Regions from separate parts of the Homo sapiens genome. Here all the other regions are linked to region 1. Evidence: promoter capture Hi-C in human tissues and cell types (Jung and others, 2019). All regions are on one chromosome and are shown on one strand. Each heading gives the region's core, a stretch centred on a gene start or on the middle of the fragment in contact. The rest is flanking DNA. Distances are from core to core; before and after follow the strand shown.

Region 1 (3,897 bases), core at 667-3,166:
CATGTTATAAAAACAATTGTTTCCCCCCAAGAAGTGAAGATAAGCTGATGTAAATTCACTTTATTTGGATTTCAATCCAGCTTTCTTCTTTGATTTCATATATTATAACATCAATATTCACTTTTCTGAAGGGCTCCTGGAACCAGAAGTGCACTTAACTCTTTCTGTGCTGGGGACATTTTGATATCTCTATTACTAATACCTAGAATCTCCAATGATAAATAAATACCTCTGGGATGGACTGGGGATACACTGCAATAATTGAAGCACTTTATCCTTCACCAAAAATGGTATCCGTGTTCCTGTGAGTAGCAGGGAGGTGGAACTCTCACCTGCTGAGTCCCGTTCTAATTTCATCCAATCTGGTGAACAAGTATCCAACCAAAGGTGGTACCTGCAGGCATGCCCATTGTCACAGTAATGCAACACTGTAAGTCCTTAGCACAATGTTAAAATTGGTTGGAACTGAGTTTCAAATGTTTTCCTCTCGCTACTGAGGTCTTCTACTTCTTTCTTTTTCTCTTTGTCTCTAATATCTTTTTCTTTTTGTTTTTCTTTTTCTTCTTCTTTTTTTTTTTTTTGAGTTGGAGTTTCGCTCTGTTGCCCAGGCTGGAGTGCAGTGGTACTATCTCAGCTCACTGGAGCCTCTGCCTCCCAGGTTCAAGCGATTCTAGTGTCTCAGCCTCCCGAGTAGTTGAGATTACAGGCGCCCGCCACCACACCCAGCTAATTTCGTATTTTTAGTAGAGACAGGGTTTCACCATGTTGGCCAGGCTGGTCTCGAACTCCTGACCTCAAGTGATCCGCCCTCTTCGGCCTCCCAAAGTGCTGGGATTACAGATGTGAGCCGCCATACCTGGCTAATATATTTTTCTTAACTGACTAGAGCACAGAACACAAATCGTGTGTTTGCACTTACAAATTTCTATGATCATTGTTCCTAGTTTAAAAACTTCATTAGCAAAGGGGTTTATATTTCTCTTTTCAGTAAGGACACGAAATTATGTTTCAACAATGCCCAGTCTCACCTAAAAAGCAAGTTTTCATTCTCTGTTTATGGTAGCCCACGACAAACCAAAAAGATCATTTTGGATGGTATCATTGTTAATCCTGCTAAATGATTCAATTTCCTGCTGAAAGCAACAAACTAATACTTATTTAGTACCTACTATTTATTATTTGCATACTAGGGTTTATACACAAGGCGTCCTATGAAAGAACATTTCATTCAAAAGTCACAACATATAGTCTTCAATTATCAGCTACCTTTATTTGTAAGCCAAAATAAATGATTTAATACAGTCCTCCCAAACTGGGAGACAATGCTTTGAGAAAGGCCAAAGCTAGCCAGTAAGGCCATAAGTTCCATGAGGGCAGGATCTACCCAGCTCCTGTTTCCTGCTCAATTCCAAGCAGTTAGAACAGGGTCAGTAAACACTGCTTGCCACTTGGAAAGAGTATTCTTTTATTTGGAAATGGTATCCAGGTACTCGTGAGTAGCAAAGTCAAGAGCAGGAAAGGGGAGTGGGGGAGGTTGCAAAATCGGAGCGAGCAGCAGGACCGAGAGGGATCCGGAGGAGAGAGCCTTCAGACGGTGAACCCCAAGAGCTGGGATGAAGCATGGGTGAGCTACTGGGACTTCGCTGCCAGGGAGCAAGCTGGCAGGCAGGAAGTAGCCAAGATTTGGGGGAATCCTTCCCAGGGAACGAATACAGAGAAGGACGCATCTGAAAATTCCGCCGCAGCCACCTCCCTCCCATGGGAAAGCCCCGACCTCGGCGGGCCCAGCGCCACCCGGCTCCCCGGGGTGTGGAACACTGAGCGAGGCAGGTGCGGCGGGAGCATGCGCGCGGGGCGGGCAGGGGGCGGCTCCCGCGCCCCCACCCCGCGCGTGCACCCTCGCGCCCCTCCCGCCGGGCACCGCGGGGCAGCGGCGCCGCAGCCTGGGCTGGCGGAACCTCGCGCTCCGACTCGCCCCCCGCCTGTAGCTCGGTCGGCGTTGCGGGCAGGCGCCGCTCCGCTGGGGGTAAGAAGGACGCCGCCGCCCGCGTGGGATGGTCGCGAGCCCGCGTGGGTGCCCACGGCCGCCGCCGCGCGGGGTGGCCCCATCCCCGGGCAGGTAGAGGGGCCTGCACGACTCCCGCGGCGAGGGCCGGGCCGGTGGGGGCGGTGGCGGTTGGGGATAGCCCCGGTCCCGGCCCAGGCTCTTTCTCTTTCTCTTTCGCCGCCGGGGCGCGCGCCGGGCTCCCCGCGAGAGGCGCTGCCTCACTTGTCGCCTACTTTGGACGGGCGCGGCCGCCGCAGAGCCCGGCGCCTCGGTCAGCCGCGAGGGCAGGGTCGGGGTGCCAGGCGCGGCTACCTGGGCGCCCTGGAGCCAGCGCAGCCTGGGACCGGGGGAGCGGGACGGGACGGGACTCCTGAGGGCCCCCAGGCAGTCCTCCGGCCATCGAGCGCCCGGCGGTGGGCATTTGGCTTTTGTTTCCTCTGGGGCTAACGCCCCCGTCTGCCCGCGTGTCCCCCTCAGCCGACAAGTGTCGTGTGCCCGGACGGGCGAGCGCTGCCTCCCTCCACCCGCTTTCTGCCCTTGTCTTCCTCTGCGAGTTCTGCCCAGCCTCGGGAGCGGGAGCCCAGGGAGTGCGCGCAGGGCGGGCGGGCGCCTGGCCAGCCTGGGACGGCGGCTCTCAGGCTCCTGCCACCGCCTGGAACTGCGGGGGGCGCGCCGGCCACAGTCGCCCTCGCCTGCTCTCCGGGCCTTCTTGGGCCCGCTTGGTCCCAGGTGGACGCGAGTCGAGCTGGGCACACCTGGGCCAGCGCCGCACTTACCTGCGGGATTGGTGAGAGCGTTTTCGCGAGGTCGCAAATTCCGGGTGGGTATTGTCCCCTGCTTTTGATCTCCCTTAGTCACTGGTTAAAGTGCGAAGTGTGCTTTATCTTACATATGCCTTTAGAGGGACATTCTTAATGCGCCAATGCCCCGAGGTGGAACTAAATAAAGGGAAGGCCTGGTCATTGTTACTGTTGAGACTGCTGTACTTAACAGTCAGAGGAAGGCAGCTGGTCACCACGACCCACTCGGCCATTCCCATGCTGAAGACTCGCTCTCACTTCACACTTGTTTGGACTCCACTATGACTTGCTGGTGGCCCATCTCCTGGATCCTTCTGTTGGAGCTGTTCTAGAAGATGCTTGTGGCAGGCTCCAGTTTCAGTCCTTGGCTGAAATAAGTGTAGTGTGGCTCTTCGGTTTTCTAATCTATTCCACCTAAAAAGGTTAAGGTGACAAACAGGTGGTGGGTACAGTAGAGTTGTTTTTGGCCCTTGGTAATATTAAAAACTTGGAATGCATTCCTTATATTACTACAGAATTAGGAGAAACGGTTGAAAGAGGAGAGGTTTTTTTCTTGGAGTATCCAAAGGGATTGGATTCGACTACACTGACTTGGTGTGTAATGGTTGAGTAGGAAGGAAGATGAACATAAAACTGCTATTAATTATGCTCTTAGATGTGAGGCAACATTGAGGATGTATTGCATGTAACCCTTGACTGCAGAATCACTTAGCACTTTGCTGTACAATATTGGGGTCACAAGAAATGTTCAGCTTGGTTAACCTCTGCAGTGTGCTCTCACTCAGTTTCCAAAGAAAGGGTATTGGTGGGAAGGTGATCTGGTGAAGACAGAGGTAATGAAAGTGAAGGAACTGTGTTAACTTTCACTTTTTAAACATTTTATTTTTATTTTTTAGAGATAGGGTCTCACTCTGTCACCCAGGCTGAAGTGCAGTGGTACCATCATGGCTCACTGCAGCCTTAACCTCCTGGGCTCAAAGGATCCCGCCTCAGCCTATTGACTGGGAGGGTAGCTGTGCACCACCATGCCTGGCTAATTTTCTAATTTTT
Region 2 (3,897 bases), core at 661-3,160, 470 kb before region 1:
CTCTTACTTTTATGATCTATGACACTTATTCTAGATCTTCCATGGACACTTAGGGAAGGTGATGACTGTAGTTGGATCTTTGGAGATTGTTGAGTATTTTCTTCCTCAGTAATGACACAAGATGGCGCCAGAGGGTTGGCATTTATACTCAGGGATTCCATCCACAGCTGGATAATCCACGACCAGCTGTGCTGAAAATTTAGAATACACCAGAGAATCTAGGCTTTCCTTTGTCCCTCTGTATTTTCTTCAAAATGGTGTCTTGGTGGGGAGTTCTTGGAGGAAAGCATTATGTTCTGGAATCTCTGGGGAGTTCTCAAGTTGAAGGAAAATCTATTTCTATTCAATGGCTGGAAGGCAGTCAGCTGCTGGTGAAGTTAACTGAGCTGTATAGCAGTGGAAACACTTGTGACAAGCTAGTAGGTTACTGGAGCTGTGCGTGCTAGAGTTCAGGAGTAGATGACAAGTGTATACAACCAAGCAATATGGGGAGAGAGGGAGGATCATATTGTTGAAGAAAAATCCATGTGTAGATTTGTGGATAACTTGTATCAAATTTATAATGACGCAGGTCCAGGATGTTACTGAAAAGAGCAAATACACATTGCTGTGAGCTTGCCTGAATAATAGAAACTTTAAGAGCAAGTCTCAGTGCAAAGCATTTAGGGGCAGACAAGACATAATGTTAGTGCATAAACTGCAGGCTGAGGACTGTCTCTAATCTTCCAACGCAATTAAAAAAAAAAAAAAACAACTCTGGGGAAGAAAAAAACAAGAGATGCAGATGTAGGCTTGGGACCACTGTGTTTCCATTAACTTCAGAGAAATTAAGAAGCTCTTTTAAGTTAAGTTTAATTTGGCAAATAATCCATTTTCATTTTACTTAGGAAACCTGGCCCAACGCTGTTTTGTGATTAATAGTTTTGTAGTTAATTCATTTAATACATCCCCGTCACAAGTATTCTCTTTCCTGAGGTCATTATTTCCCCAGAAAGTTATTAAGCATGTAATGAAAGCATCTGAGGCTTGATTGATGATGATACTAGTCCTTTAATTTTACGGTCAAGTTTGGGGCCAAGTTTGAAAAGAGAAAGTAACGACATTAGTGGAAAAGGCTCTGTGTTCTCTGAGCTCCATTTGAGGGTATTGAGAGGGACAGCTTAAACACACACACACACGCGCTTGTTCACAATCCTCCCCTTCAGAGAATCTTGTTACAACTAGAGCTTACTTAGGTGGCAAAAAGGCCATTATTTCCTGCTGGTAGCAGGCCAGAACTCTGGGTTTCCTGCAGGGTTCGCTGGTATCAAATCAACCACCTGCAATATAGTATTTTTCACTTTCAAAGTCATACGAAGGAATGTGGACTCTTTGTGAACCCTTTCAGGATATTTCTCAGAACCTCTCCCTTCAGTGAAATGTACTGGCTGTAGTCAGATAGGCAGTAATGATGATACAGCATGCAGTAAATGCTACACAGAAGATAATTGGTCTCTGAAAATTACAACGTCACACAGTGTTTCTGAAAATTACGAAGTCATACCGATTAGGTCTTTAGTGAAGTATTTGGGTAAAAGCACAAAAACTATAAAGTATGTTTTGTAACTGACAGTCAGGGAATCATTTGGCATGGTTTGAACACAAGGATTGAATATTTTGGAGGATGAAAATTAATATATTCATATACCCTTCTTAAATATGATTCTCTGAACAGATCTGGAATTAGAGGTTTGAATCCTCCTTGCATAATTCAAACTACCAAAAAACAAAAACAAATGAGTGATCCAGAGATGGAAGGTCCTAATTCTGGTATAAACTTCACCCAAATCTCTGGCTGACCCACAAACCATGCGTGTGTGGGGTAACACGGCGAAGGATTGAACAACTGAACACACAGTTGAGCTCCTGCCCAAAAGACCACTGGCAATTTGAGTCCAGTCAAGCAAACTGCCGGCTTAAAAGAGCAACAATAGTAAAAGAAACCAAACAACATTCTTTGGAGAAATACTTCAGAATCCATAGTCTCCAAAGACTATATTCATAATGTTCAGAATAAGCTTTAAATTTACTTGACATACAAAGTAACAAGGAAAGTGTAACCCATTCTCAAAGAAGACAGAGACCAACCCTGAGATAACCCAGGTGTTAGAACTGCCAACAAGGACTTTTTTTTCTTTTTTGAGACAGAGTCTTGCTCTGTCGCCCAGGCTGGAGTGCAGTGGCACGATCTCGGCTCACTATAAGCTCCACCGCCTGGGTTGACACCATTCTCCTGCCTCAGCATCCAGAGTAGTTGGGTCTACAGGTGCCCGCCACCACGCCTGGCCAATTTTTTGTATTTTTAGTAGAGACGGGGTTTCACCTTGTTAGCCAGGATAGTCTCGATCTCCTGAACTCGTGATCTGCCCACCTCAGCCTCCCAAAGTGCTGGGATTACAGGCGTGAGCCCCCACGCCTGGCCGCCAACAAGGATTTTGAAGCAGCTATTGTACCTGTGCTCAATGATGTGAAGGAAAATATGATTATAATGAATGAAAAGATAGGTCACCTCAACAGAAAAACAGAAAGTATTTTAAAAGCACCAACTGAAAATTCTAGAACTGAAAAAATACAATGTCTGAAACAAAAATGAATGAAGGAAATTAGTAGCTCTTCTCTCTTTTTCAGCAAGTTTTTCTCATTAAAAAAACCCAGTAAGCTTACAAAGAAAATAGATACTGGTCACGGACAGCATGTGAATTAAAGCTTAGAAAATGACTGCCTTGCCTACAATATTCTCTTCTTTCAAGACACAAAAGATTATTTTATGAATCTGGTTTAGTTAAAACATTCAAAGATTTAGAACCTACATAATTTTTAGGACAAATTTTGCCATACAACTTAGGATCTATTATTTTCTTTCATTGTAATTTTTATGAAATTGTAGTTCTGGCCAACCTGAGAAGGTTGTACAATGGCAGATACAGACATCACCTGTTAAGTTCACACAACATTTTAAAATTTAAATTAGTGGCTGGGCCAGGTGTGGTGGCTCACGCCTGTAATCCCAGCAATTTGGAGGGTGAGGCAGGGAGATCACTTGAGGCTAGGAGTTTGAGACCAGCCTGGCCAACATGGCGAAACCCCGTCTCTACTAAAAATACAAAAATCAGACAGGTGTGGTGGCGCACACCTGTAATCCCAGCTACTCAGGAGGCTGAGGCAGGAGAATCGCTTGAATCCCGGGGGTGGAGGTTGCTGTGAGCCAAGATCGCATCACTGAACTCCAGCCTGGGCAACAGTGCGACACTCTGTCTCAAAAAAAAAAAAAAAAATTAGTGCCTGACACTCTCAAATTGAGAGTTTTCGCATTAAAGCCTGGATTTGGCTCTCAGTCTGGCACAGCAACCATTACGGAGAACCAAGCAGTGGTCAATGTCTCTAGATGGGGTGTGTCCTCTCAGTTTGGACACAGACCTTTTTGGTCCATGTAGAATCAACATTTACTTAGCATGCTCATACATATTTAGATTTGCAATGCCTGAACTCCCCAGGTTAACAGTTAAAGCCCCCACTATGTACCCCCATTCTACTTTTCCAAACTTTTCTCTTGTTACATCCTCCACAATATTCAACCTTTATGCTCAAACCATGCCAAATGATTCCTTGTCAATTACAACACACACTTTATAATTTTTGTGCTTTTGCCCACATACTTCACTTAAAGGCCTAATCTATATGACTTTGTAACTTTCAGAAACATGATGTGACTTTGTAATTTTCAGAGACATATTATCTTCTGTGAAGTATTTATTGCATGCTGCATCATCAGACCTAGGACCTCAGATTTAAGAAAGGCAGTGATGTCGTATTTTTTGATGCATTATCACACACCAGGCTCTATTCTAAATGACTTCA
Region 3 (3,897 bases), core at 618-3,117, 410 kb after region 1:
TGTATTTTTGTTTACCAGAGAACTTTATATTCTCATATGCCTTCAAATTAGTGTCTAGAGTCCTTCATTTCAACTTGAAGGACTCCCTTTAGCATTTCTTACAAGGCAGGTCTACTGAAAATGAATGCCTTCAACTTTTGTTTGTCTGGAAATTACTAAGTTTCTCTCAAATTTTGCAAGAGAGTTTGGCTTATATAGAATTCTAGGTTGATGATTTTATTTTTTTCTTTCAGCACTTTAAGTATATCATTCTACTGCATTCTGGCCAGCAAAGTTTTGGCTAAGAAATTCTTCGATAACTTTCTTGAAGATTCCTGTAATGATGAGTCACTTTTGTTCTGGTGCTTTCAGGATTCCTTCTTTGTATTTGGCTTTTGAAAGTTCGATTATAGTATGTCTCATTGTGGGTCTTCTTGAGGTTTACTTTACTTGGAGTTTGTTGAGCATCTTAGATTTGTAAATCTGTGACTTTCCTTAAATTTGGGAAGCTTTTAGCCATTGTTTCTCCAAATTGTCTCTGTGCTCTTTGCTCCCTCTCTTTTTTCCTTCAGAAACTCCTGCAATGTGTATATTGGTCTGCTTATGCTGTCCTACAGATCCCTTAGACTCTTCACTTTTCTTTAATCTTACTGCTTTATATTCCTCATACTCAATTTCAATTGTCTTATCTTCAAATTCACTAATTCTTACTTCTACTCAAATCTGCTTTAGTATCCCTCTAGTGAATTTTTCATTCTAGTTATTTTTCTGTTGATTTTTTTCCTTTGAGTGGGTCATACTTTCCTGTTTTCATATACCACGTATTTTTTTGTTGTTGAAACTGACCATTTGAATCTCATAATATAGTATCTCTATTAATCAGATTCCCCGCCTTCCCCAGGGTTTGCTGCTTCTGATTTTGGTTTTTGTTTGTTTGGGGTTTTTTAATTGTTTTATGGTAGCTCCATGCCAGACATCAGCATGAGGTGTAAACTTAAGGTCTTCTCAGGTCATTTCTGAGCCCACTGCTTTCCTTGGTCGTGCATGGTGACTTACTAAATTCCCTTGTATATGTTATTGCTTTTAAATGTGCTAATCCTTAAATGTTTGGCTCCCCAGAAGGGGAAAACTGGACGGAAATTTTTTTAAGGCAATTATCTTCACATACCCTGGAAGCCACTTTAGGCAATGGGGATTGCTATAAAGGCCTCTGGCCTGCACCTTCATAGTCAGTTATGAGGACACAGATCCTCAATATTTGGAGGACAAGGTACTTATTGCCCACCCTGGTTCTTGAAAGCCACATGCAAGTTGCACCCAGATTGTTGGCACAGCTGCCTGCCACAGGGCTGGAGGATGGGAAGTGAGTAGTTGCTACTGTTCTAAGAGCTGAAATTGACCAAAATTAGCCATGATTTACCACCATCTAAGCTGACCTCCGGAAGCTGCAAGACTCCAGAGATCCAAAATAGTTCTATCAGTCAGATTCTGCCAGTGCAATTGTTGTCTAGGCAGAGAGACAGATTCCTGGCACTTCCTACCCACCATCTTCCCTAACATCACTCCTGTCCTTTGTTTTTGAAAGTTTTGAGACAATATGTGATGCTTGACTGGATGCTGTAATGAGTGTTTATCTTTAAGCTCCAAAAACTTTACTAAGATAGGTCTTGTTATTGCATTCCAATTCACTGAATGTGGCACATGGTATGCCCTTATGATATATAGATTCAAGTACATTCACATATATAGATTTAGGAAAGGGTTGTTTTTATTATATATTTAAATATTTGCTCTGTTTCATTGTTTTGATTTTTCCTCAGACACACTAATTATGTATGTGTTGAATCACCTTCTCTAATGTTTTTTAAGTTCTTTTTAAATTTAAATTTCATTTTGCTTGACTTTCTCATTTTTATCTTTTATGAGTATAATCCTGACTCCGGGTTATGCAAGGTCCATTCTCCCTTTCTGCTCCTTCGAGTTCCATCTCTATTCCTGTAATGGTTTTATTTTTCTCCTCTACTTCTTTCTGGAGTTCTGCATTGCCTTTTATTGACTTGCTGTCTCTTCCTCGAATTGTCACATTTCTACTTTATTTTCTTCCTTCCTAGAGATAATTGCCTCACTAAGCTTTATTTTGTGTTTCCAAACATGTCAGAATGTCTGATCACTCTTTCATCTCCTCAGTGGCAATATTTTTATGGATACATTTTAAAAATTTAATAGATTTTACTGGTCTCATTCACATTTTTCTCATGGCATCTTTATAACAACACCATATCATTTTTTTTTCTTTTTCTTCTTTCTTTTTTCTGAGCTCACTCATTACTTAATGAGTTCAATTTTCCTGAACTAACTATTCACACACATCTATATTGACAGGAAATGAGGGCTAGGCTTTCCAACTAAAAGGTTTCTCTCTCTTGCCTGACACTGAGACAGAGTGCTTCCTGCAAACATGGCTCCTCTGGACTATTCTCTGTGTAGCCCTGAAAACTCTAACTCCTTGAACAAAACTAAGTCCAGTAGGGCTTCTTTTATACCAACCCTGCTCACCCAAGGTCCTGTCCCCATTTGTACAAGCAAGGAATGTGCCTTTGCATTCTGGCAGTGGCCACCCAGGAGATCGGCCACCACTCAGCCCTTCTTTTCTTCCCTTCCCCTGCATATCTTCTAGCCAATCACAGTTGCTTCTGGCCCTTTTTACAGATATATTGAATCTAGGGAATTTATCTGCCTTCTAGTTTCACTGAAAATGGAATTTATGGTGTTTCCTTTATTTTCTTCGTTGTTTGTTTTTGTATGATTCTAGGAGGATGAGGAGAAATGCTCACAGCCATATTCCTTGCTGATTAGCATGTTTAAAATGACTTTAATAGAAAAACATGTTCTTTTCTTTCATTCCATTCAACACATTTTTATGAAGCACAGCACACTCTGAGGAAGGTAGGGCGTGCTCAGAAGAAAGAGTGAGCCCTTCCTTGGTGGGGGCATAAAGGTGGAAACAGCTATTACAGTTACAGGGTAGCATAGGGTAAGTGCTGCTTTGCAACCTCAAACCAAGACATTTGGAAGAGGGAAACCAATTGATTCTCTTTGTGGGAATCAGACATTTTCAGGAGAAGATAGCATCTGAACTAGGCCATAAATAGTGGGTGGAATTTCAATAAATATAAATATGAGAAAAATGTTTCTGCTAGGCAGATTTGATAATCAAAAGCAGAGAACTAGGACAGCATCCTCAAGGCTCTGTGGCTATCTGGCTGCACTACACCAGAGACACATCTGAGACAGAAAGAAACTTGTGGTGAGGCAGTAGGTGGGACTGTGAGTCAGGTGTCTTGGACACCATGCTAAAGAGTGTTCCTTCATCCTCTGCTTAATGAGAGAAAGTTCAGGAATCATCTTAACTGAGTATCTGGTTTGTTTGTCATTTCATTTTGTCTTGATTTTGAGGAGAATAACTTAGTTAGATTTATGGCAGAGAAAAATTCTGAGGGCAGGTTGGAGGAGACTTGGAATAGAGGAGCCTGAAGGCAGAGACTATCCCAGGTGACTGCAAGTGGCAGCTGGCCAGGCTGCTGACAGTGAGGACAGAAAGGAGGGGACAGGAACAGACAATGTTGACTTTTACCTGACCCTTAGGGATCCTGGAAAACAGCAAAGGTTGAGTAATCACCCCAACCTTTGTGTCCTGGAAAATGACTGATTGCAAAGAACGCCCCTTCCCCACGTGACTTAGAGAAGTCTGGTGGATCACCCCTTGACTGCCTCAGACAAGGCCAGACACAGTCCTTCCAAATGCCCTTTCTTTGCCTCATAAATGATTAGCTGACCTCTTTTGCCAAATGGGGACAAAGTACTTGTTAACCACCCTTTGGTTAAGTGACTTTCCTTCCCCCAGGCCCACCCTCAGCC

Evidence for each region. Contacts are between HindIII fragments. The study calls those that stand out against the background at their distance.
Region 2: a contact is called between a fragment that was not itself captured here and the fragment with the promoter of L3MBTL4 in region 1, in 1 of the 25 tissues and cell types used here (dorsolateral prefrontal cortex).
Region 3: a fragment that was not itself captured here is called in contact with the fragment with the promoter of L3MBTL4 in region 1 in 1 of the 25 tissues and cell types used here (lymphoblastoid cells).

The regions. Positions count from the first base shown.
Region 1 is chr18:6,412,930-6,416,826 of GRCh38, reverse strand. It overlaps L3MBTL4 (L3MBTL histone methyl-lysine binding protein 4), which reads left to right and starts at 1,916. Exons shown (of 19, transcript NM_001330559.2): 1 at 1,916-2,026. RefSeq lists a silencer at 1,874-2,413. The HindIII fragment of the contact is 7,728 bases long and covers 1-3,897 here.
Region 2 is chr18:6,882,657-6,886,553 of GRCh38, reverse strand. The region is part of intron 11 of ARHGAP28 (Rho GTPase activating protein 28); the gene reads right to left. Among named protein-coding and RNA genes, the nearest start is that of LINC00668, 45 kb to the left of the region's middle. The HindIII fragment of the contact is 4,461 bases long and covers 1-3,897 here.
Region 3 is chr18:5,998,488-6,002,384 of GRCh38, reverse strand. All of the region lies in intron 16 of L3MBTL4 (L3MBTL histone methyl-lysine binding protein 4), which reads left to right. Among named protein-coding and RNA genes, the nearest start is that of TMEM200C, 100 kb to the right of the region's middle. The HindIII fragment of the contact is 4,141 bases long and covers 1-3,897 here.